Regions from separate parts of the Homo sapiens genome. Here all the other regions are linked to region 3. Evidence: promoter capture Hi-C in human tissues and cell types (Jung and others, 2019). All regions are on one chromosome and are shown on one strand. Each heading gives the region's core, a stretch centred on a gene start or on the middle of the fragment in contact. The rest is flanking DNA. Distances are from core to core; before and after follow the strand shown.

What was found. The method cuts DNA at HindIII sites, captures the fragments that hold promoters and counts their contacts. A contact is called where the count stands out against the background at its distance.
Region 1: a contact is called between a fragment that was not itself captured here and the fragment with the promoter of CBR3 in region 3, in 1 of the 25 tissues and cell types used here (lymphoblastoid cells).
Region 2: a contact is called between a fragment that was not itself captured here and the fragment with the promoter of CBR3 in region 3, in 1 of the 25 tissues and cell types used here (dorsolateral prefrontal cortex).

What each region holds. Positions count from the first base shown.
Region 1 is chr21:34,759,545-34,762,541 of GRCh38, forward strand. The region is part of intron 1 of LINC01426 (long intergenic non-protein coding RNA 1426); the gene reads left to right. Among named protein-coding and RNA genes, the nearest start is that of LINC01426, 15 kb to the left of the region's middle. The HindIII fragment of the contact is 3,510 bases long and covers 1-2,997 here.
Region 2 is chr21:34,882,816-34,885,782 of GRCh38, forward strand. All of the region lies in intron 4 of RUNX1 (RUNX family transcription factor 1), which reads right to left. RUNX1-AS1 (RUNX1 antisense RNA 1) reads left to right here. Exons shown (of 2, transcript NR_186614.1): 2 at 668-2,237. Among named protein-coding and RNA genes, the nearest start is that of RUNX1-AS1, 48 kb to the left of the region's middle. RefSeq lists a silencer at 108-157. The HindIII fragment of the contact is 3,015 bases long and covers 25-2,967 here.
Region 3 is chr21:36,133,243-36,136,328 of GRCh38, forward strand. It overlaps CBR3 (carbonyl reductase 3), which reads left to right and starts at 1,837. Exons shown (of 3, transcript NM_001236.4): 1 at 1,837-2,239. The coding sequence starts at 1,951. All of the region lies in intron 2 of CBR3-AS1 (CBR3 antisense RNA 1), which reads right to left. RefSeq lists enhancers at 1,192-1,999, 2,000-2,806, 2,642-2,811 and silencers at 1,822-1,891, 2,322-2,491. The HindIII fragment of the contact is 7,591 bases long and covers 1-3,086 here.

The sequences.
Region 1 (2,997 bases), core at 98-2,597, 1.4 Mb before region 3:
CAGGTGGATCACCTAATATCAGGAGTTCAAGACCAGCCTGGCCAACATGGTGAAACCCTGTCTCTACTAAAAATACAAAAATTAGCTGGGTGTGATGGTAGGCACCTGTAATCTCAGCTACTCGGGAGGCTGAGGCAGGAGAATCACTTGAACCCGGGCAGGGAAGATTGCAGTGAGCTGAGATTGCACCGTTGCACTCCAGCCTAGGTGACAGAGTGAGGATCTGTCTCAAAAAAAAAAAATAATAATAAGTAACTGCATAGTAGGTTTGATTTTGCCTCTTGCCCTACAACACCTGAAGTATGCACTATCTGGCTCTTCACCAAAAAGGGCTACTGAGCTCTCCCTGGTCTAGGTGTTGGTGGAGAAAATGGATGGGTTCGGATGTATTTTGGAGTGAGAGCCAGTAGGACTTTAATTTTAATGCTGGCAGAACATAGACTATGCTGCAGGGTGGGACAGAGTCACTTGATCCCTAAGACAAGTCTAAGACTATGAGGGGCCATGGTCCACCACCGTCATAGCAGGTGTCTTTCTTCTTGGTGTATGAGCTTTCCAAGGAAGTGTTATGTCTAAATCAGATTCCAACATTCAAGGGCCCAACTGTATATGCGAAGGCAATGGAAGGTCTTATGCAGAGGAATAACAACAAAATATACCTGACCCAGGTTGTCCGGTGCCAGGTGGAGGATGGACCACCTGGGAACCAGAATGGTGGTGATGAGGCCCCCAACATGGCCTAGAGCAGCCCTCCCCATGGTCCCCTCTGGGTTGAGTCTCGGGCTCCTCCCATGCCCCAGCTGAGCCCATAGGTCTCCTGTGTACCAGCAGCCTGTTGACCAGAATAAGCAGTGCCTGGCACAGGCCCTGGAGGCTTCATGTTATAGCCCATAAACAACGCCGTATTTATTGACGGATGACTATCATTGTCAAGTTTCCAGCCACCACCCCACCTTCCATAGGACCAGCAGGCTGGCTCCTGGCTGGCACCAAGAGTGAGCGGCTTGGGCATTTAATCAGGTTCAGGTAACAGGTAAGGACTGGTTCCCCAGCTAGGGAAAAACACAGTGAATATTTTGGATTGAGCCATGTGTGCCGCATCTTGCTGGAGCTTGCAGGCCCCTTGGAGGCTCTCAGACGGCTCTTAATTAATTGCTGGAGCCAAGTGGGGCAATCTTGTGAGCGCTGTTGCTTTTGCTCATCTGATCCAGCCATGCTCAGGGGAGGGTGAGGAGCTGGCCTTGGATTTAGGGGATGAATGGGGTGGGCTGGGATATGGGAGGAGCTCAGTGGCCTGGCCAAGATGGTTGGGACAAAGCTTGGAATAGCCAACCTGTTTGTCAAGCAAATGGACAGGCCCTTTCTTCCAGGCAGAGAAAGACCTTGCTTCAGCTCCCTGGCTTGGGGAGGAGAGACCCAGATTCGAATCCTAGCTCTACTACTAACTAACTCTGGGACCATGGGGCAATTAGCTGCTTTAAGCTTCACTGTCTCATCTGTAAAATGCATGCAGTGATACTACCTCGAAGGATTGTGGTGGGAATCAAATGAGATGAGGGTAATGCCATGCACCATAGTCCCTGCAAGGCCACTGGGTCCCTGTAAGGCCACTGATCAGTGGGGCATGCCAACACTAGAGGCAGTGCTAACCCTAGGAGGCGGGGACAGCAGAAGAGATCTCAGGTGGGCCCATGTCCCTAAGGGGAGAACGAGCCCTGGGCACCAGGGACATCATGCAGTGAAGATGCTGGAGGTGGGAATGGGGTTTCAAGTGCCAGGGACCATCTCCTTAACTCCTCTGCACTCATGCATGCAGCTCCTGCAAGGCTTGGCAGAGCTCGGGCTGAAGAGGAAAGGCTCCTGCCTACCCAGCCATAGGTCCCCAGTGGATGCAAAGGGAACTTTTCCTTGGTCCTGGTCCTCAGTGGAACCCGTTTTGTTTCGATTGTCCCTGACCTGGCCTGTGCTCTCGCTGCACCATCCTGTGGAACACAGACACCTGGAGAGTCAGAGCTGGCTGGATCTTTGGAAGGGCACAGTCACAGCTGCACCCGCCACTCCTTCCCATCCCAGGCTCGATACTTCAGTAATCCTTGCTGCCTGAGCTTCCCTTATGGGTCCCAGGTCACACCTTCTTTCCTCCTATTCTGTTTGCTGAGATACCTTCTCTTCAAATCCTTCTCCTATAGAGAGGTTTCCATGAGCCGTGGGATGGGATGGGTGTGGCCCTCTTCTGGGATCCAGAGCTCCATGGAGAGCCCTCTGACTTGGTTCCTGACTCCTTCTGCAGACCTTGTCTCCATCTTGCTTCCCTCCTCCATCAGTCCTCTAGGCCTTGAGGACAGGCACTGAGTCTTACTGCAGTGTTGAGGCTCCAAGATGGCAGTGATCTCCCAATAAATATTTGCTAACCTCAGCTGATTTCTTTACTTTATGATGTAAGAATTGAAGCTACAAGAGGGTCTGTGACCTGCCTAAAGTCATATGCAAATTAACCAGATCTTGGCTCCAGTAGTCTACTTTGACTCGAGTGCTGTTTCCCTTAAATCATGCAGCTTGTCAGGTCAGGTCAAGCATAGCCTGGATCTCACCACATTCTTACGGGATTGAAGGATGTAATATTAATGACTCAGTAGGCTTGGAATCAGCCAATCAGCAAGTGCTCCTTGAACCCCTTGATATGGAAGGTACAGGTAGAGAAGGTAGTAATTTTTCACAAGTCTCAAACTCAGCTATGTAGAAATATAGATTTGGTTTTCTTCCCTTATTTTTAATAGATTATACAATCATATTACATAAAAGCAAAACCAATACAAAAAAGCTACAACTTTTTACGTCTTATTTATATTTTCTTAGATTTTATGAATCTTTGAAAAATATAACCAAAGTGAATATATGTTCTTAATTTTCCCTTTTTGCATAAAGCCTATTGCATACACCATTTTGCACCTTGATTTCTTTGTTTCCTTTCCATACTTTTACGTAGAGAGCTTCTTT
Region 2 (2,967 bases), core at 282-2,781, 1.3 Mb before region 3:
TGAAATGCCCTCTTTGAACACATATTTTTACTTCCTCATCCTCCTCTCCCTGTGGTAACCCAGGCTTCTCTATTGTAACTCAACATTCAGCAGGTATACAGAGACTGCCTCCACTACGTGGGTTTCAAACTGAATAACTCATTGTTGGGTCTGGATCTGTAAAAAGGTGAAAATAAATAAATCTTCTTTTATAACTACAGGAATGTATTCTGAATTATCTGCCTCCTACTGCTGTTCCCCTCACAGTGCTCCAAGCCTGTGCCTCTCTCATCTTTCCAATACTATCCTCATTGGTAATTTGGCAAATTCAGGAGACCTTCGCCAAGTCGAAACAAACATAGAATAAAATTATCATGGAGGCTAAATAAGAAAAGGCTGTTGATGTTGGAACTTAAGAAGAAAAAAATTAGAAGTTTAACTCCCACTCCTCTTTTTTTTTAAATGCAGCAGAATCAACCATATTTGGGCACCTACATATCATTCACTTGGCCTTGTATTGATCTCTGAGGGTTTTTTTTTGGTGGAGGCGGGTGGGTAAAGGGGAACTAGTAAATCCAGGGCAATTCATTAATACTGTATATCGTCCAATTGTTAACAAGCATACTTAAGCCAGGTTTAAAAAGTTTCTTTTTAATTCAAAACTAACATGCGTGCTAATTTGATACAGGTTTTGTCACTGATGGGCAATATGGAGAGAATGTAAAAATATCTAACTTCAAACAGAAAAAAGAAACAACTGGAATGAAAAGCTATAAACAATAGGTAAGGAAACACAAACATTTACATTTTAACACAGACCAAACAGGCAAGAAGGGACTTGCTGGCCAAAGATATCTCATATTTTGTTTTACTTCTCTGTTTTTAAAGTATCAGGAAGTTGGGCCAAATATCAACTCTCTTCTATATTACATGGACCTCCCAATACTGTTCTTGGCTAGCCTGTTCACGGTCCAAACTGGCATTTTAAACCAATTCTAATTAGGTTGAAATTACAGTTACAATTCATTTACTTCAAATCCGTTAACCTTCCAGTGTTGCAAAGAAGGCTGTGGAGTGGAACACAGAATTCAGCTGAGATGATATTTAAGGCATAGCTAGGGACTGTGATCTTGCCGACAAAAATATTACTTATTTCCTTTTTATGAAAAGAATATTACCATCAGAATCCAAGACCTCCGAACTTCCCTGCTGAAGGCACGTTTACGTCTTTGGACTCTGGTGTACCAGGGCCTGAACAAGCTATAACACCATGGTATTACCAAATACATCCTAAGTCATCAAAACAGCTTTTTAGGCTAATTCTGTAAGTACAGCAAAACACACAGCAAACTTAAGGTTTTCTTAGTAGTAAAAAACATGTATCTCTCATACTGTAAAAAATAAAGGTGTTCCATGGGAGGGAAGGAGTAGGGGGAGAACAGGTTGGGGCTCAAAATAAGCAAGTAGGGTTATTGTAATCTATTTTAAAGAAAATTCATAATTTTAAATCTCTCTTTAGTTCAGAAGATTGACGTAGAGGATTTACCTACAGAACTTCAGGAGATTCCTAAGAAGGCCTTCAGTGATCTTTTCATCAATATCATCAGGCCTTATCATTGTTTCACATTTGCTTCTCTTTACCATAGGGAATATAATAATTATTTACTGGTTAACTTCCTAGGGAGATTGCCTGCGGCTTATTTAAGATCCAAATTTTAAAGTAATAATTTCTGTTGAAGCTGCTTGTGAGGTGGTTGGGTGGGCAGATAGAGTGAAGCCAGGGACACACACTAAATGAGCCCGGGATGTAGGCAGGTTTTGATGTTTTGCTTGCTTTTATCCCTAACATTTTATCCCTTCACGTTTACTGTCTCACTGAACATTTTGTCTACTCTTCTAGTTATGCAGTGAGCAGGTCTCCTCCAGGAAGAAGCCTCTTTTTATGAGGATTGGGGTGGTGACAGACAATAATCAAATGGTCTGATTTCTCTGCTATCCTTTCCTTTCCCCTAAATGTTCTCAGGGGATCTGCTTGAACTTTTTTCAAGAGCTCTGTATTTGGATTTTTAGTAGCCTATAGATTATCACTCAATAAAACAAATTAATTGTTTTTAAGTGAATTGCCAAAAGTCATTTTAAAAAGGAAACTCTATGGTTATTATGGTTTCTGCTAGAAAGAATTCTGACAGCTCATAAAAGCAATATGTATAATTTTTCATTTTTTAGAAGAAAATAAATACTTTCATGTAATGGCTTGAGACTCTGAATTGCTCCAATTCCTGAAGATTATTTATTAATCATTTAGTCTTTTAATATATTTGAGTGTGGGTTCCCTGGCAGAGGAGGGAGTTCAGAAGAGACCCTGATTTCCCCCCCAAAAGGAAGCCACAAATCTCTTAGAGCCCTAGTGCATTGGGGCAGCCAGGTTTTAATGGCCTTTGGTGGTTATCAGCCCGTCTTGCCTCTGCTCTTTATCTGATAGTGACCCCATGGCCCAACCCTGTTGGGTCCCCTCTCAATGCGGGTGCCCTAAAGAGTCATCGCTGAGTCCATTTAGGCAAAGGGTTAGAATGATTTAAAAGTAAAATGGTCTCCCAAACCCAAATCTAAGTAAACGGAGGGAGGGAAAAAAGAGTCAAGCAAGCCACCACGTTCCTTCGTTCCTTCTCCTCATTTCCACCCCCACTAAAAAACAAAACAAACAAAAAAAACTGCTTTTAGAAAAGTGAGTGGAAAAAGAGGCCAATCTATAGACACAGCCAACTGCAAATTTCGTTTTGTTTTAGAAATCACAATCTAAGTGTGGAAACTGTATAAAGCTTAAAAATAACCGCAACAATACTTTTTTAAAAAGTGAATATTCGTCGTTGTAATAAGATCAAGACCCAGCTGAGGCTTGGAACTATAAAAAGCTTATATTAAATTAATCTCCCTTTAAAGGGGACAATTATTTAAACTTTTTTTTTAGTAGCTTATCTTTACACTTGG
Region 3 (3,086 bases), core at 587-3,086:
CCAGTCTGAGCAACACAGTGAGACTCCCATCTCTAAAAACAAATAAAAATAAAATAAAATAAAAAATTATCCAGGCAGGCCGGGTGTGGTGGCTCACGCCTGTAATCCCAGCACTTTGGGAGGCCAAGGCGGGTGGATCACGAGGTCAGGAGTTCGAGACCAGCCTGGCCAACATGGTGAAACCCTGTATCTACTAAAAATACAAAAATTAGCTGGGTGTAGTGGCAGCGCCTGTAATCCCAGCTACTCAGGAGCCTGAGGCAGGAGAATCGTTGGAACCCAGGATTCGGAGGTTGCAGTGAGCCAAGATCGTGCCACTGCACTCCAGCCTGGGTGACAGAGCAAAACTCCGTCTCAAAAAAAAAAAAAAAAAAAAAATTATCCAGGCATGACTGTGGCACACTTGTAGTCCCAGCTACTAGGGAGGCTAAAGGGGAGGATCACCTGAGCTCAGGAGACTGACGCTACAGTGAGCCACGACTGCAGCACTGCACTCCAGCCTGGGCGACAGAGAAGACCCTATTAAAAAAAAAAAAAAAAAAAAAAAAAACAGAAATAGAAAGCCTAAATAGCCCCATATCCTTAAAACAAGGTTCCAAATGATCTTTTTTTTTTTTTTTGAAAAGTCTCACTCTGTTGCACAGGTTGGAGTGCAGTGGTGCAATCTCGGTTTACTGCAACCTCCGCCTCCCGGGTTCAAGCAGTTCTCCTGCCTCAGCCTCCTAAGTAGCTGGGATTACAGGCACGTGCCACCACACCCAGGTAATTTTTGTATTTTTAGTAGAGATGGGGGTTTCACCATGTTGGTCAGGCTGGTCTTGAACTCCTGACCGCGTAATCCACCCGCCTCAGCCTCCCAAAGTGCTGGGATTACAGGTGTGAGCCACCGCGCCCGGACCAAATGATCTTTAGGAGAAAAAAGAAGGAAATACTGGGGGAGGCACAGTAGGAGATCACAGCAGGGGCCCACCTCCGGAACCTCAAGTAAGGACTTGAGAGAGAAGGTAGAGTCAGAGTAACAGAGACACAGGCGGGTTAGCCAGCTCTGCATGGAAAAGGCTGAGTCGTGATGATGTCATGGTTCTCCCCAAATCTCAAAGTCACTGATCAAACAACTCAGTTTACACTGAAGACGATGGATGAGACTCTAATTTTGTGCCCACAGCTTGACACACCTTTGGGAATTTGGTTTAACTTTCTTTGCCGGTACACAGATCTGTGAGAACATATGATCAATCCAGATCTTTATAGATCTATATCCTCCCTGGACAAACCTAAATGCAGACACTTTTAGCACCCGTAGGAGTTAGGTAGGATTAAATAAAAACATTCCCTCCCACTTGGGGGCACATTCACTGGGAATCCCAGAGCGATGTCGCCTGCCCACACCTGCTAAGTGCGCTCACAGGGCATCTAGTTCCCTCTCTTGAGTTCCTTTTAAGCAAGCAAGGCAACCTATGTCCAGAGAAGCAGTTACTGTGTCTAAGTAAGTCACTGCATCTTAGGAAAAAGCAAACATTCGCATTTTGCAGTGCATGATGGGCGCACACCCAAGAAAATTACTCAGCACTTGTTTTTCTCACTTTGGGGTTTTCCCAAAATAATTTCTTCAGTCCAGTTGCCAAGAATCTGGAGCCCCCGACTGACCCATCAAGGTCCGATTTGGCTTCGGACACCTCGCAGATCACCCCGCGGCTCAGAGCCCGGATCCTGAAGGGCGCAGCGTGGGCAGGGGGCGGGCCCGGGAGTTGGAACAGAGGGCACAGACGGCCCCTCCTCGGAGGGGAGGGACCGGAGCCGGGGCCTTTTTCTTTAAGACTCGCAGCACTGGATCCCAGAACTTAGTCTGCGCGGCGGCATTGACACTAGCTGGGCTCCTCGGGGCGCGCCCCAGGTGGTCCGAAGCCCGGTCCGCCCTCCACGCAGGTGCCCCGCGCTCCCCGCTCAGCCATGTCGTCCTGCAGCCGCGTGGCGCTGGTGACCGGGGCCAACAGGGGCATCGGCTTGGCCATCGCGCGCGAACTGTGCCGACAGTTCTCTGGGGATGTGGTGCTCACCGCGCGGGACGTGGCGCGGGGCCAGGCGGCCGTGCAGCAGCTGCAGGCGGAGGGCCTGAGCCCGCGCTTCCACCAACTGGACATCGACGACTTGCAGAGCATCCGCGCCCTGCGCGACTTCCTGCGCAAGGAGTACGGGGGGCTCAACGTACTGGTCAACAACGCGGCCGTCGCCTTCAAGAGTAGGTGCAGGGCTTGGGTTGGGGCCCCCTGGAGCGCTCCGAGGGTGCGGAGGTGGCCAGCCGCAGGCTCCCCACCCGTCCACTTGAGTGACCGAGGAGGGTGGCGCCGACCCCTAGGGATGCGCTCAGCCCACGCCTCCCGCGAGGCGGTTTTCGCTTTCCGTGATTCGCTGAGCCCCAGGCGGGCCCGGGCGACAAACAGCGCGCCCCGCCCGCCGGCCTGTGAGGGCCTGTGCGCGGCCCGGGGCCCTCCCCGAACTGTCAGCCGCTGTTGTGTGCAGGAAAACTGGCCTCCTGGGAGGGGGCAACGCCCTGCTAGAGTTCATCAGCTTTCCTTCCAACGCGAGAAACATTTTCTCTGCAAAGAAACGGTCTCCGCTCGCTTTGGGCTTTCGCTTTCCTTGAAAGGGCGCATTCATAGATGCCCGGAGGCATTTGCTCGGGAAAGGAAATGAATCGCTAAAACAGGATTAGCGCGCGCTTGCCCTTGGTGGACTTGACAATTTGTGTAATGCAGAGCTTTGATAGGCTCTGGCAAAAAGGAAGCGAGCCTTCTCGTTCCCCCACCCCCGCCCGGGGAGCTTATGTTTGTTATAAAATACGTGCGTGTGGTCTTAAAAGCATCTTCCTTAAGGAGAGGGGCGGGGATCAAGAGATTGCTTATTCTAACTACTACTGAAGAAAATTACAGGAGGGCGCAGTGGCTCACGCCTGTAATGCCAGCACTTTGGGAGGCCGAGGCAGGAGAAACGCTTGAACCTGGGAGGCAGTGAGCCGAGATCGCGCCACTGCACTCCAGACTGGGAGACAGAGCGAGACTCCGTATGAAAAAAAAAAAAAAGTTACT